Linked DNA regions of Homo sapiens: regions 1, 2, 3 and 4 are each linked to region 5. The links are contacts of gene promoters, found by promoter capture Hi-C in blood cells and fetal thymus (Javierre and others, 2016). All regions are on one chromosome and are shown on one strand. Each heading gives the region's core, a stretch centred on a gene start or on the middle of the fragment in contact. The rest is flanking DNA. Distances are from core to core; before and after follow the strand shown. Region 1 overlaps CDC40 (cell division cycle 40). Region 2 overlaps DDO (D-aspartate oxidase). Region 3 holds the start of FOXO3 (forkhead box O3). Region 4 has its middle 82 kb from the start of GPR6. Region 5 holds the start of ZBTB24 (zinc finger and BTB domain containing 24).

Evidence for each region. The method cuts DNA at HindIII sites, captures the fragments that hold promoters and counts their contacts. A CHiCAGO score of 5 or more calls a contact.
Region 1: a fragment that was not itself captured here is called in contact with the fragment with the promoter of ZBTB24 in region 5 in 2 of 17 cell types (total B cells and naive B cells); the score reaches 6.9 in total B cells.
Region 2: a fragment that was not itself captured here is called in contact with the fragment with the promoter of ZBTB24 in region 5 in 2 of 17 cell types (megakaryocytes and fetal thymus); the score reaches 5.4 in megakaryocytes.
Region 3: the fragment with the promoter of FOXO3 here is called in contact with the fragment with the promoter of ZBTB24 in region 5 in 11 of 17 cell types (naive CD8 T cells, total B cells, non-activated CD4 T cells and 8 more); the score reaches 15.2 in naive CD8 T cells.
Region 4: a fragment that was not itself captured here is called in contact with the fragment with the promoter of ZBTB24 in region 5 in 1 of 17 cell types (neutrophils); the score reaches 6.8 in neutrophils.

The regions. Positions count from the first base shown.
Region 1 is chr6:110,207,165-110,209,864 of GRCh38, forward strand. It overlaps CDC40 (cell division cycle 40), which reads left to right. Exons shown (of 15, transcript NM_015891.3): 4 at 342-425; 5 at 1,920-2,059. Among named protein-coding and RNA genes, the nearest start is that of CDC40, 28 kb to the left of the region's middle. The HindIII fragment of the contact is 1,293 bases long and covers 770-2,062 here.
Region 2 is chr6:110,396,268-110,398,967 of GRCh38, forward strand. All of the region lies in intron 4 of DDO (D-aspartate oxidase), which reads right to left. Among named protein-coding and RNA genes, the nearest start is that of DDO, 18 kb to the right of the region's middle. The HindIII fragment of the contact is 1,394 bases long and covers 554-1,947 here.
Region 3 is chr6:108,559,530-108,562,229 of GRCh38, forward strand. FOXO3 (forkhead box O3) reads left to right here and starts at 1,388. Exons shown (of 3, transcript NM_001455.4): 1 at 1,388-2,300. The coding sequence starts at 1,680. RefSeq lists silencers at 1-112, 153-222, 1,202-1,421 and an enhancer at 1,865-2,365. The HindIII fragment of the contact is 5,662 bases long and covers 1-2,509 here.
Region 4 is chr6:110,059,360-110,062,059 of GRCh38, forward strand. No RefSeq gene overlaps it. Among named protein-coding and RNA genes, the nearest start is that of GPR6, 82 kb to the left of the region's middle. The HindIII fragment of the contact is 2,218 bases long and covers 179-2,396 here.
Region 5 is chr6:109,481,948-109,484,647 of GRCh38, forward strand. It overlaps ZBTB24 (zinc finger and BTB domain containing 24), which reads right to left and starts at 1,272. Exons shown (of 7, transcript NM_014797.3): 1 at 1,151-1,272; 2 at 1-107. The coding sequence starts at 79. It overlaps ZBTB24-DT (ZBTB24 divergent transcript), which reads left to right and starts at 1,697. Exons shown (of 4, transcript NR_187591.1): 1 at 1,697-2,700. RefSeq lists silencers at 963-1,252, 1,333-1,772. The HindIII fragment of the contact is 11,956 bases long and covers 1-2,700 here.

The DNA of each region.
Region 1 (2,700 bases), core at 166-2,665, 730 kb after region 5:
GTTAGCTAGGGGTAATGACGCATGCCTGTAATCCCAGCTACTCTGGAGGCTGAGGCAGGAGAATTGCTTGAGCCTGGAAGGCGGAGGTTGCAGTGAGCCGAGATTACACCACTGCACTCCAGCCTGGGTGACAGGGTGAGACCCTATCTCAAAAAAAAAAAAAAAAAAAAAAAGGAAGCAATATAGCTCAGGGCAGAATGATTGGTCCTGATTGGTCCTGAGTTAGAGATCATTTTTGACATCTGGGAAAGAAAATGTGAAATGTGTATATTTGTATTATAATAATAAAATGAATTTAAACAGCAAAATGGAGTTAATAATTTTCACTTTTTTGCTTTCAGGTTATGCATTAGACCCTTCATTAGATAATCATCAAGTGTCTGCTAAATATATTGGTTCTGTAGAAGAAGCTGAAAAAAATCAAGGTAATTTATTTGAAACATTTGATATCATATATACCTACACATCTATAATTAGTGTCTTGCAGAGTGACTTTAATTAGACAGTAAAAAATAGTATTTAGCGCTTTTTTTTTTAAAGTTGAAACAATGGAGCGATACAGTTTAGAGCAATATAGTTCAGAAATGTTACAGTTTAGAGCTTGCTTTTGCCGCTTACTAGTTGTGGAATCTTGTAGGGAAAATAATGATACATATCTCTTTGAGTTACTTTGAGTACTTGGCACCATGCCAACCCTGTAGAAATCACTCAATAAATTACAACTAATGTATAGATAATTTTGGCAATTGATTTCTCAACATTAATGTCAAGCTTCATTTTAACAGAGTAGAAATACTTTATTTGGTAAGTCTGTGAAGATTGTCTTTGAAGAGTTGCTTTGAAGGTTGAGTTTGAATATGTGTTGTATGTATGCTTGTATTCATATTCATTTTGTACTTACAATAAGACAAAACATCATACGCTAAACGCTAACTTGTCACAAGCCTCATCAGTCCATTAGAATATTATCCATAAAATGCAATTTAAAAAGTAATTTGCTGGTTGGTTGCATGGGACATTTGTGCTTAGTAGCTATAGATCCTATGTGATCTGGCTGGTCTCTGTATATGAGCTAGATTATTGTTAAAATAGAATTTTAACAGGCTTTTGCTATAAAACATAGCCTGAATTAATATAGGTAGACATTTCTTCTTTAAGCTAGACCTCTGCAAGTCCCATCTAAAGGTAGCTAGATTCTTAGTTAACTTGTGACTATGATTCCACAAACCTTTCTTTTTCCAAGTTAATGACTATACACAGTATGCCACCTCCTACTAATCAAATCAAAATCTCAACCAGAAACACCCTCCTTCTCCTTTTCTTTTACTGTTAACGTTAATGATATTAGAGGTCAAGATGAGACTGAAATCACTTGGAAGGAATACCATTTCTGGTGAAACCTTGTTTGATTTACATTTTTGCATTACAAGTGAAGTGAAGATAAGTTATTAAGTACTTACAGTAATTTAGTTTAATTTAGTTTTAAAATGATAAATTACAGTTTATTCTTGCTTCCAAATGTCACTTTATTATTACTTAGCAATAATGAGTTTCTGAGTTTTTTCCAGAAAGTCGTACAAATCCACTGACACAGCTTTTTGATTCAATAAAAGGCTTGTGCGCCATTGTAGGAGTACATATTTGGGTCTCTTCTTTAAGTATACAGTATTAGAATTTGCAGAATATTGAATTAGTTTTAAGTGTCTTTGCCCAGAAGGTTGAATCCCTTTTTCTGTAGCATGAGTCAGCGTATATGGTAGATTCATGTAGATTGTTTTTTAATAACTCTGGGGTCACTTGAACAATCATCTTTCTTTAACCATATAAAATAAAATTAAACATATGTTCATATTTCTTTAGAAAATGTACATCTTTGTAATCTCTCAGTTTTTTTTTTAATTTTTTTTTTGTTAACGTAGGTTTAACTGTATTTGAAACTGGTCAGAAGAAAACAGAAAAGAGGAAAAAGTTTAAAGAAAATGATGCATCCAATATTGATGGTTTTTTGGGACCATGGGCAAAATATGTGGATGAAAAAGATGTAGCCAAACCTTCAGAAGTAAGCTTTGATGTTTTTAATTGTCAATTCAGGTATACGCTGTATCTCTATGAAGGATATCTACATTAATAAACTTGAGATTTCTTTAGAGAACCAAATGACTCATCAAAATTTTTCTGCCTTTAGTTGATTGAAAATATACAATAAAATTTATTTGTTTTTCTTTGGGATATTTTTATTTACCTTTTCTGCTGATTTGTTTTCTCTCATGCTTTTTTATTAAAATACAATATTGAACAATTTTCATAAAGATTTCCTTGATATTGCTATTAAGCTGCCATGGTAGCTACTCTTCTGATACTAGACATTCAGATAGTAACTACAAAATCAGCCTTCTGTGACACTAGAATTGATTATAAATTTTATTGATTTATGAATTTATTTAAAATTTTCAACAAATTTTATCTCTATATATATCTTAAAAACTACTATAAAGTTTGTAAAGTAAATGCTCTGCCGTTCCCTTCCTCACCTCCTAATCTCACTGTCTCCATGAGCCAGAGAGTGTTCTAGGTCCCAGGCATACAGCAGTGGACAAGATCAAGAAAATCATGACCTCATGAAGCTTATATTCTAGCTGTTACTTACATCCAGTAAATCCATGTTTATAGTAATAGAAATAAACAGGTGATATCTAAGAT
Region 2 (2,700 bases), core at 1-2,500, 910 kb after region 5:
GAGACCTCTGAAGTATGTCCACCGAGCAGTTTCAAGAACAGTTTGAAACCTCTGGATTAGACTCACTGATTATTCAACAAGTATTTGTTGAGGGCTTGTACTGTGCCCAGCACCCTTAGGAGGCAAGAAGAACTCAGAGGCTATGCTTGCTCTGAGATCACATGAACCTGCACTGCACTTCCTATTAAATGCAAGCTGCATTGCCAGCATCAATGCTTCAAACAACAGAACCTAAATTCGGTTGCTTTTTATTCTAAAAATCCAAGGAAGGGAGTATATTGTTTACCTGAGACAAGGAAACCAAAGAAAAGAATCTGGCAAGCATCTACACTTTGGGGCCACAGAGAACCAATAAAGCCAATGGATTACTTTTTGATGTAATTAAAAGTAGTTAAAAGAGAGAGAATGAAGCTGGAGCTACTGTTTTGTTTGTTTGTTTGTTTGTTTGTTTGTTTTATAAGTAAAACTGTTCATAGATAAAAAGTACTAAATATAGCAAATTTTATGGGGACAGATTGTTTTTGGCTCTCTCAGTAAGAATAACCAATTTAGAAGCTTAAATTATGTTCTTAAACATGTAATAATAGATAAATGTTTTTAAAGGTAAAATAACTGTAAAGGTTGTTTTTCCCCTTAACATTGGCATAGAAAGAAAAGTAAATTGGAGTTTTGTAGTAATACTGAGCAGCATGTTTCTGTGTGTTTATAATCTTCCAAAAAGTGAACACGAAGAAAAGAACTTTAAAAAGAGCTTAGGAGGCCTCTACCCTTTACCATTCATATGACCTCGGCCAAGTTATTCCACTTCTCTAAACTTTAATCTTATATCCATAATATGGGGGTAGTAATACTGACTCTCTAGGCTCGTTGTGAAAATGAAATGAGACACATCTGGAAAAAGCATAACACTGTGTCTAACACACTATAGCTGCTCAATAAAGACCTTTTATTTTTAAAAAAGTGCTTAGGGGTTTTTCATGCTACTGTAAAATACAAGACCCAGTGCATTATCTATGTGTATTCTTATCCTCCATACCTGTATATCACTTATGTTTCATTAAGGATGATATTTCAATTTTGAAAAGTTTTAACTGATCATTATTTGAATATTATTTTGATTTTGTGGGTTTTTTAAATTCTTACATTGTAGATTCCATGTGTTAATATTTGAACATTATGTTCTGTGCTCTAGATATCCTAATTAATTAAAACTCAGAATTATTTTCATAATTTGGGGGAATAAGAGAATCTGCCAGCCTTGGGATATCAGCAGATTTTTAAAACTCACTGAAATTGTTTCCTAGGGATAAGAATGCCTAACTTATAGGGTTTTTATGATGATTATGCAAGAATTCAATAAGTGCAAATGTCTTTTCTTTTCCATTTCAAGGGTTCCCTGCTGGTCAAGCTACTGATAAAAGTCCAACTTGTGCCTGGTGACTTCTTAAGCTATCCTAGTGGCTGGGCCTTGTCAGGCTTCCTGTGCTGGATTGCTCCCAGGCCTTGGATCCCAGAGGAAAACTCACTAAATGTGCCTGGAGACTGGTCACCTTTATGTTGTTGTAATGCAACCACATAGTGATGCCCAGTCATTATTATGTATCCCATGGGTAATGCATAAGATGGCACCAGTGCATAGGAGGAAACTGTACCCAAAAGTCAGATGTTAAATTAGGTGACCAAGTGCCTACCAGGCTGCTTTTATGACCATATGAGGTAGTTATTCTGGAAGTTTGGGGTGACATGGTTGGAGGTACAAGAAGCATGATGACTTTCCTCTTGGGGCTTCTTGCAACTGAGCAAGACCTCATCCTGGAGAGAGAGAATACCATTGTCCCAACCTCCCATGAGGAAATAGGGTTAGGGGCACTCAAGAAGCAGGGCTCACGAAATAGCCCCAGCATCCTCTGGTCATCACCCTAAAACATGAGAGTGTCCATTTCCCCAAGCTTAAGTTAGCCCTCTGCTGGACTGCATCAACCTGACCCACAAACAAGGAGGATGGTCATCCTCAGCGCCTTTCCTTCACCTCACTGGGAGTTTCAGCAAGGAGGTAAATTGAGTTGGCTGTGCCCCTGAGGAAAATAAGGGTCCACTAAGCAAATCTTAAATGCGTACACACACACACACACACACACACACACACACACACACACACACTTGGCCTCCCAGGAGCAGAGTCCCCTCATCCCCTCTCTGCTCTTGGAATCAGAGGCAATTCCCATACTCCACTGAAGCTGAAGCCATGGCGAGAAAGGAATCTCAGGTAGCACTAAACAGGGAGGTGGGGGCTGTGATGCGGACAGCCTGTGGCTGGCAGCGGGGACAGGGGAAAAGACGAGCTCCTGGTGAGCTCCAGGGCAGACATGGCTGGCTAATGGGGCTAATGATGGTGCTGAGGAAGCCAGTTTCTTTCACAGGCATTGCTGTGAGTCAGGCCGAGCAGGAGAACACAAGATACAGGAGAAGAAAAAGATGGGCATTAGAGGACTCCCCCAGAGAAAGTTACAGAGAGGCCTAATCAGAGGAGGGGCGAGGAAAGTACAGGGCAAGTAGCTCAGTGTGGCCAGTGCTGCGGTCAGCATAGGGCCTCCTTGGGGACACAGGATAAGGCATGGCCTCTTGGAAAGAGATCAACGTGTCCATGTTACAGGGCCCAGCACAGAAATGGGCCACCCAGTTTCCTGAATGTTGTCAAAG
Region 3 (2,700 bases), core at 138-2,637, 920 kb before region 5:
TCGTTGAGACTCTCGGGAGGGAGGAGGAGCCCAGCGGGGACAGCAGCGGGAGCCCGCCGAGTCCCGGCCCACGGCGCGCGCCCGGACACCCACGCCCGCAGCCCCGCGGAGCCGGGCCGCGCAGGCGCGCGCGAGCTCACACACGCGCACTCACACACGCACGCCCGCCGCGCGCCCGGCCCGCCGCCCAGCCCGCCGCCCAGCCCTCCCCCTGGGCGGGGACCCGCCCGCCGTCAGCCTAGGTTGAGGCGCCCTGCGTGTGTCTATAACTTTGTGCTGCTGCCGCGGCCGCCCTGCTCGTGGAAGGGAGGAGGAGGAATGTGGAAGGTGGCGGCGCGCGAGCTGACAGGCGGTTCCTCGGGCGGGCTGCGGCGACGGCCCGAGCGCTTCTCCTTCGCCGAGGTTGCGCGCCCCCTCCTCGCCGTGCCCCGGGCCCGCGCGGGATCGTGCGTCGTCCCGCCGCGTCCCTGAAGGGAAGGAAGCGAGGTAGGCGCCGGAGCCGTGCAGCGGGCGGCCGCCTTCCCGGTGACTCCGGATCTGCTTCCGAGCTGGGCCGGGCGCTTCCCTTTCCCCTCCCTGAGCCGCGGTGTGCGCGCCCCCCTTCTCGCCCGCTAGTGTTTTTAAAGGACTCGGGAAGGGGGAAACTGTCAAGATGGCAGCAGCGGGAGCAAGGAGGTGATGAACGTGCTGGTCCGGGTTTTCTAGCAGCCCGGGAGACTTGGCGCTTCCCGACCTGTTGGAAGATTTATGTTCCGACTCGCTCCCTCCCCCGGATCCCGACTGGGAAGGGGGCGGAGGGGACGACGTCCGCGAGAATGCAAACCACACAAAACCCCGAAGTGGCCGTCCCCGCCGGGCTCGAACCTCTGCGAACACCCGCTGGGCTGCTGCTCCCCCTTCTTTCTGTCTTTCCTTTATTTTTTGGAAGTGACAAGGGCCCATCTGCGCCCAGACCCCCGTTCGCCCTCTGGCCCGCGGGCGAAGAGGGGAGAGGGAGCTGCCCGCGCAGTCCCCGGGCTCGGGCCATTCGACCGGGTGGGGGGTGACGGGGGGTCGCGGAGGCGGCCAGGCTAGGAAAGGGGAGAAGAGCCGAAGACAGCACAGACTTGAGCGGCGGCGCCGCGGGAGGCACTAGAGCGGGCCCGAGCGAAACATAAACAAACGCACGCACACCCGAGCTCGGGCTCTGACCGCGGCTCGGCTGCGCCAGCTCCGGCCGCTGCCCGCTTTAAAGGCGCGGCCGCCCCTCCCCCGGGCGCCCCTCCCCCTTCTCCCCGCCCCGCCGCCTAGCCCGGGAGGGACCTGCGGCTGGGCGGCGGGGGGAGGGGGCTGCCCCGCGCGAGGCCGTCGATTCGCTCGCGGCTCCATCGCGGCCTGGCCGGGGGGCGGTGTCTGCTGCGCCAGGTTCGCTGGCCGCACGTCTTCAGGTCCTCCTGTTCCTGGGAGGCGGGCGCGGCAGGACTGGGAGGTGGCGGCAGCGGGCGAGGACTCGCCGAGGACGGGGCTCCGGCCCGGGATAACCAACTCTCCTTCTCTCTTCTTTGGTGCTTCCCCAGGCGGCGGCGGCGGCGCCCGGGAGCCGGAGCCTTCGCGGCGTCCACGTCCCTCCCCCGCTGCACCCCGCCCCGGCGCGAGAGGAGAGCGCGAGAGCCCCAGCCGCGGGCGGGCGGGCGGCGAAGATGGCAGAGGCACCGGCTTCCCCGGCCCCGCTCTCTCCGCTCGAAGTGGAGCTGGACCCGGAGTTCGAGCCCCAGAGCCGTCCGCGATCCTGTACGTGGCCCCTGCAAAGGCCGGAGCTCCAAGCGAGCCCTGCCAAGCCCTCGGGGGAGACGGCCGCCGACTCCATGATCCCCGAGGAGGAGGACGATGAAGACGACGAGGACGGCGGGGGACGGGCCGGCTCGGCCATGGCGATCGGCGGCGGCGGCGGGAGCGGCACGCTGGGCTCCGGGCTGCTCCTTGAGGACTCGGCCCGGGTGCTGGCACCCGGAGGGCAAGACCCCGGGTCTGGGCCAGCCACCGCGGCGGGCGGGCTGAGCGGGGGTACACAGGCGCTGCTGCAGCCTCAGCAACCGCTGCCACCGCCGCAGCCGGGGGCGGCTGGGGGCTCCGGGCAGCCGAGGAAATGTTCGTCGCGGCGGAACGCCTGGGGAAACCTGTCCTACGCGGACCTGATCACCCGCGCCATCGAGAGCTCCCCGGACAAACGGCTCACTCTGTCCCAGATCTACGAGTGGATGGTGCGTTGCGTGCCCTACTTCAAGGATAAGGGCGACAGCAACAGCTCTGCCGGCTGGAAGGTGCGTACCCACCCCGGGCTGGCAGCAGGACCCGCCGGGCCTCCTGCGCAGCGCGAGACGCGTCTCGGATTCGTCGGAGTGCGCTTGCGGGCTCCAGGGCAAGGGGTTGGCAGGGGGAGCCTCCGCTGCGAGGCTTTGGGGGTTATCTTTGATCCCCGGAGTCGGGGCACCTGGGGACGGTCTCGGAGGGGTGAATGAGGCTCCCCAGAAGCTTGGGGCATGGCCAGGTGAGGAGAGGGGGCAGGGGACGCCGGCGAGGGAAGGGCGAACGGACAGGAGTACATTTGCTGGATTCTCCGGACAGCACCGAGGAGGTAGGTCCGCAGCCAACTTTGGAGTAGAGTTTACCGTAGTGGGGGTCTGGTGCGGGCGCTGTGGCTGGAGTGAGAGGTGTGGGGGT
Region 4 (2,700 bases), core at 38-2,537, 580 kb after region 5:
GTGCTTCTAAGACAGCATATTGTTGTATTATATTTTGTTTTTTAATCCAATCTGACAGTGTCTTTGGTGAGTTTAACCCTTTTGCTGCTAAATTAGGATTTTGTTCCATTGTCTTATTTTCCACTTGCTTTATTCTGCTTTTTCTTTTCTCTGTTCCTAAATTCCATTGAATAGAACAAGCTTTCTTCTGTAAGACTAAAAATTATACATTGCTTTTGCCTTACGGTGGTTGACCTTCCATACTCATGTTTATATCTATTGTTTCATTAAACTTAGCAATGTCTAGATCATCTTTCTTGCTTTACTATGAATCTCATGTTCCCCTGGGCTTCCTCTCATTTTGCTACATCATGCTGATAGAACTTTAGTTCTGGGATGCTATATAAATATATTCCCTCCCATTCTAATTTTTAAGACAATAGTAAACTCTACCAAGATATGTGATTACCCTTTCTTCCTATAACTTGCTTCACCGTGTGGATTTATTTCTCTTATTATTTAAGGACTTCTCAAAGTGTTTTCAAGAATGGATCTTCCTGTGGAAAAAACTTCTGAAGCTGTATATGCCTCGGAATATTTTTATTGTGTCGTTACATTTGATTAAGGTATTGGTGGGATATAATTCTTTAATTCCAGAAAATTTATCCCCATTATGTCTTCAAATATTGCCTGTTGTCATTTTTCCTTTTTTTTCTTTCTAGGTATCTGATGCAGATGTAGACATTTCTCTGTCTTCCATATCTCAGCTTGTTTTTAAAAACTACATATTTTCTTTCTCCTCTTACCCTTTTCTGTTGTGTTCTGGGAGAGTTTTTCAATCTGATCTCCCAACTAATTGCTTTTTAGCTATATCCATCCTACTAGTTACCCCATCTATGGAGTTATTTCGTTGCTTGCCTTTTCCATACCTAATATTTCTACTTGGTTCTTTTGTGTGATTTTTATTTTTGTTAATGTAATTTCTTATTTCTTGAGACATATTTATAATGCTTATTTTAAATTCTTGGTCCACCTGTTCAAATACTTCTGCCAGATGGTACATGTTGTGCAGTTTGCTTGTTCATTTGGTAGTTGTATTGCTCTAGTCATTTCGGCTTTTGAACTTCTTTTTCTCTCCTCTCCTCTACTTACCCTACCTGGTAATGTTTCCTCTGTTCCGTTTTGTGATGTGTATTGGGAAAAGCCCAATGATGGCTTAGGCTCTTGGTGGAGAGCCCTATGCACCGTGGAATCACGACTGATTCCTGTGGGCTGTTGGCTTAGAGTAGCCAGAAAACTTCTCTGGTCAAGGTTTCATCTTAAAACCTTTAGGATAAGGCAAGATAGAAAAGAGATGGTCCCCATCACTTGGGCTGTGGAGAGGATGTGATGGATGAATGTAGGAGGTTAGTTGTTCAGTCTACAGCTGTTTTCATCACTTTTCCCCTTTGGCAGGGCTTTGATGCTGCCATGAACTTGCCCTGCAGACACCTGCACCAATAGCCCAGGCTGCTGCCACAGAGCTCTGCACTGAGGAGGTGGCAAAGGACTGCCTTTCTCCAGGCAGTCTCTTCACTGCTGCTTCGGGGTTTCTCCACCTTGGGATATAGCCACCCCTCCACAAACTGCAGTTCAAGAAAATCTTCATGCCCCAGGCATACAATTTCATTACACACGCACACGCACACACACCACACACTTCTTTGTGCTAGGCTTTCTGCTTTCATGTCAAAAATTCCCAAAGGGGAGTGGGAAGCCCTAGGCCACTAAGGTGAGCTTCAAATGCCTTTGCAACTTCAACAGCAAAATGCCAGGCTCCAGGAGGATGTGACAGAGGGCTCTGGGTGATGGGGCTTCCCCTCAGTGCTGAGGTGGTGCTTTCCACGCAGGGTACCCGAGAGGAGAGGCTCACAATGAAGCCCCGGGAATGCCTGCCCCACCATGGCTCCTGTTTATTGGGGAGTTTTGTTTGTTGCTTTCATTGTTGTTTTTGTTTGTTTTCCCAAATGTACATTTCCCCATTGCTTCTGTTTTTCTACAGCATTGATTAGCAAGCAGCTTGAGCTAGTTTTACCATCTTGCTAGCAACCTATCATAGTAAATAGTTAATCAATGTTTGTAATTGATTGGCAACGCTAACAAAAAAGTATGTCTTTCTTTCCAGTTTGTTTTCTTAACAAGAAAAGGTTCAGCTGGTTAAAAGGTATAGGTATATCCCTGACAAAAGGGGATAAAAAAGGAATGGATTATTTTATTGTGTGCCCACTAAATCCAGGCATTTGTTAAATACTAAATATGTGAGTTGAGTATGAAATTTCCTCCATAAATTTCTTTTCATCTACTTCACTAAATTAGATAAACCACTCTGGGCCCCCACCCACCTGGCTAGGAGAAAAGTCAGTCTTGGTGATGAAGGAAGCTTTCCCTTCCTTGGATCTTACCGAAGTCCCAGAAGAATGAGTCTTCTGCAGCCTAGATCTTTGCTGAAAGGGCACCTGCTTGTCGGCTCCCACTGGCCTGTTGGGGGACTCTATACTATAGTTGTGTACTGTTGCTATAGTGCACAGCCCAAGCCCTCCTCAGCTGGTGCAAGAGGGGATGGAGCGTTGGTGGCTGGCGGCTCACACAAAGTCTCCTTACCCTAGTCTCTGGAGAGAGGCTGCTCGGCTACTTCTGCGCCAGCCACCACCAGCCCAGGGATTTTTCTCTGAGATTTTCAAA
Region 5 (2,700 bases), core at 22-2,521:
AACTGGCCAGCACAGTGTCACTGTGAGCGTCTGAGTGTACAACAAGCTGCCCAGAAGGCTCTGGCGATGTTTCTGCCATTTTCTTCAGAAGCCACTAAGGGTTAAATCTGAAATAAGAAAACAAGGTTTAAAAAGGAGAAAGCACTGTCTAAAAGGTTAATGCCAGCCCACATGAACTTCCTATTCACTTCACATCATTAACTGAATTTTACCATTACCATTTTTGTCTGTCTACAAACTTAGCTCTGGGCCCGGGCGCAGTGGCCTCACGCCTGTAATCCCAGCACTTTGGGAGGCCGAGGCCGACGGATCACTTGAGACCAGCCTGGGCAACATGGAGAGAATTCATCTATACAAAAAATACAAAAATTAGCCTGGCGTGGTGGCGCCCGCCTGTGGTCCCAGCTACTCAGGAGGCTGCGGCAGGAGCATCACCTGAGCCTGGGAGTTCGAGGTTGCCGTGAGCCGTGATCGTGCCACTGCACTCCAGCCTGGGCGACAGAACGAGACCACCACCTCAAAAAACAAAAACAAAACAACTTAGCTCGCGGTTTTTTTTTTTTGAGACGGAGTCTCGCTCTATCGCCCAGGCTGGAGTGCAGTGGCGCAATCTCGGCTCACTGCAACCTCCGCCTCCCAGGTTCAAGCAATTCTCTCCCTCAGCCTCCTGCCGCACATTAACTAGCTGAGTGACTCTCCAGTATTCATGGAACGGTTCAGGGTCTACCTTCTATAAAATGAAGGAATGGGATTAACCATCTCCAAAATCCTCCGCAAGCACGAACTTTCTATGGTTGCACAACTATTTCAGGGAGAACGAAGCTGCCTCCATCTCCCAGATTATTAGCCATTTCGTATGTGGGAACCAATGTGAAGAGTGAAGAAATGTGCACGTGCAAAGTGAATGTGAGGTAGCTGCAATAAAATACTAATAACTTAAGCTGCGTGGGGCCGCCAGACACACTAGGGGCGGCGCGGAGCCCCCCGCAGCCCCGGGTGGTCCCAGCAGGGAGAGGTGGCGCGGAAAGACCCCCACCTCCCCGCCCAGGCCCCGCGGGCCCGACTGGGGAGCACACGGCGGGGGAGGGGTCGGCGCGGCAGACCTACCGCTCAGGGGCGCCCGGTGGGGTCCGGGTCGCTGCCAACTCACCCGGCGGCCTGGCGGGAGACCCACGCCGGGGCCCGCTGGCCCTCCGCTCCGCCCCGCCCGCCTCTGGGGCTTCTGCGCCGCACCGGTTTCTGCTCCTGCGCCGCCGCCGCAGCCACAGCCACAGCCAACCCGGAAGCGCGGCGCCAAGAGCCGCTTGCGCGCGGACGCCGAACCACGTGGCCCGCAGAGGCGCCCCTGGAGGTGGGGGCCACGAGAGCGGCGGGGAGGGGAAGGGAGGTGAGGGGCGGGGCGGGGCGAGATGGCGGGGCGGGGCGGGGCGGGGCAAGGCGGGGCAAGGCAGGGCAAGGCGGGGCGCGAAGGCAGTTCAAGGGTTGGGGCGTGGCAGGGGAGGGGAGGGGCAAGGCGGGGCGAGAATGCAGGCCTGGGGTCGGGGGAGCCGCGGCGGGGCGGGGCAGGGCGGGGCGAGATGGCAGGCCCGGGGCTTTGGGGCCGGGGCCGGGGCCGGGGCCGGGGCAGGGCGGGGAGGGGCGCGGCTTCGGAGGAGGGACAGTGGCCGGGGCGGGGCGCGGCCAGGGGCGGGGCGGTGTCGGCGCCCGAGGTCCTGCGTGTGGCACTGCCGGGGAGCCCAGGCAGGAGCGACTTTTGCGGTGAATTGGGGGCAATGGACAGGAGAGGCGTTGTGACCCCTCCCTTTGGGAAGTTTTATATCGTATTAAACTGTTAGCTCAACGCCAATACCTTAATTTTATCTCTTCTCCGACACCGAATCTGGTGTTGTTCTTGAATGTATAAAGGCATGAAATCCCCCTTACCGTCATCATCATTGTCATCATCATCACCATCGTCATTATCTAGTGCTAATATAATAACTATTACTTACCTCCTAAATGTTTTTCACATCTGCCTCCTTTTCCTCCCCACTCCTGATGCCTTAGTCTAAGGGAATGAAGAGAGCACTGCAGTCAGAGAAACCTGGGTTCTGAGAGATCTTGGGCAAATTACTTACCCTCACAACTTCTTTACCTTACCTGTAAAATGGAGATGTTAACACTAGTGCCACTTTGGTAGGGTTGCTATTGCATAAACAAAATTAAGTATGTAATGGGCTTAGGAAATGCCTGGTTTAATTCGTCTGCTGTGATTAAAATGATCATTATTATTCAAACTTTCATCATCTTTGTTCAATAGACTGTTTCTAACTGGTCTCAGCTGCAGCGTTGTTCTCTTTAATTCGCAGAAGTACAGAGGATTTCTCCAAGTACATATGAGATCCAGAGACTAGAGTCACTCCTTGGCTTAGAATCCATGTGGCTCCCACATGCCCTCTGGATAAAGTCCAGGCTTCTTAATGTGGTCTACAAGCCCCATCCAGATCTACTCCCCACCTGCTTCCATCCATTTATTTCAGCATTTTCTCTCTCTTAGCCAATACCTAATTACTTATTTTTCTGCCCATTTCCAGATTCCCAACATGCCATCTATAGCCTCCCTGATCTTGAACCGGAGGTGTAATTAGCAACCTGGCTCTTACATTTTTACTAGATTTTATTAAAACTAGCTCAAGCCACACATGCTCCTTCTCTGAGGTT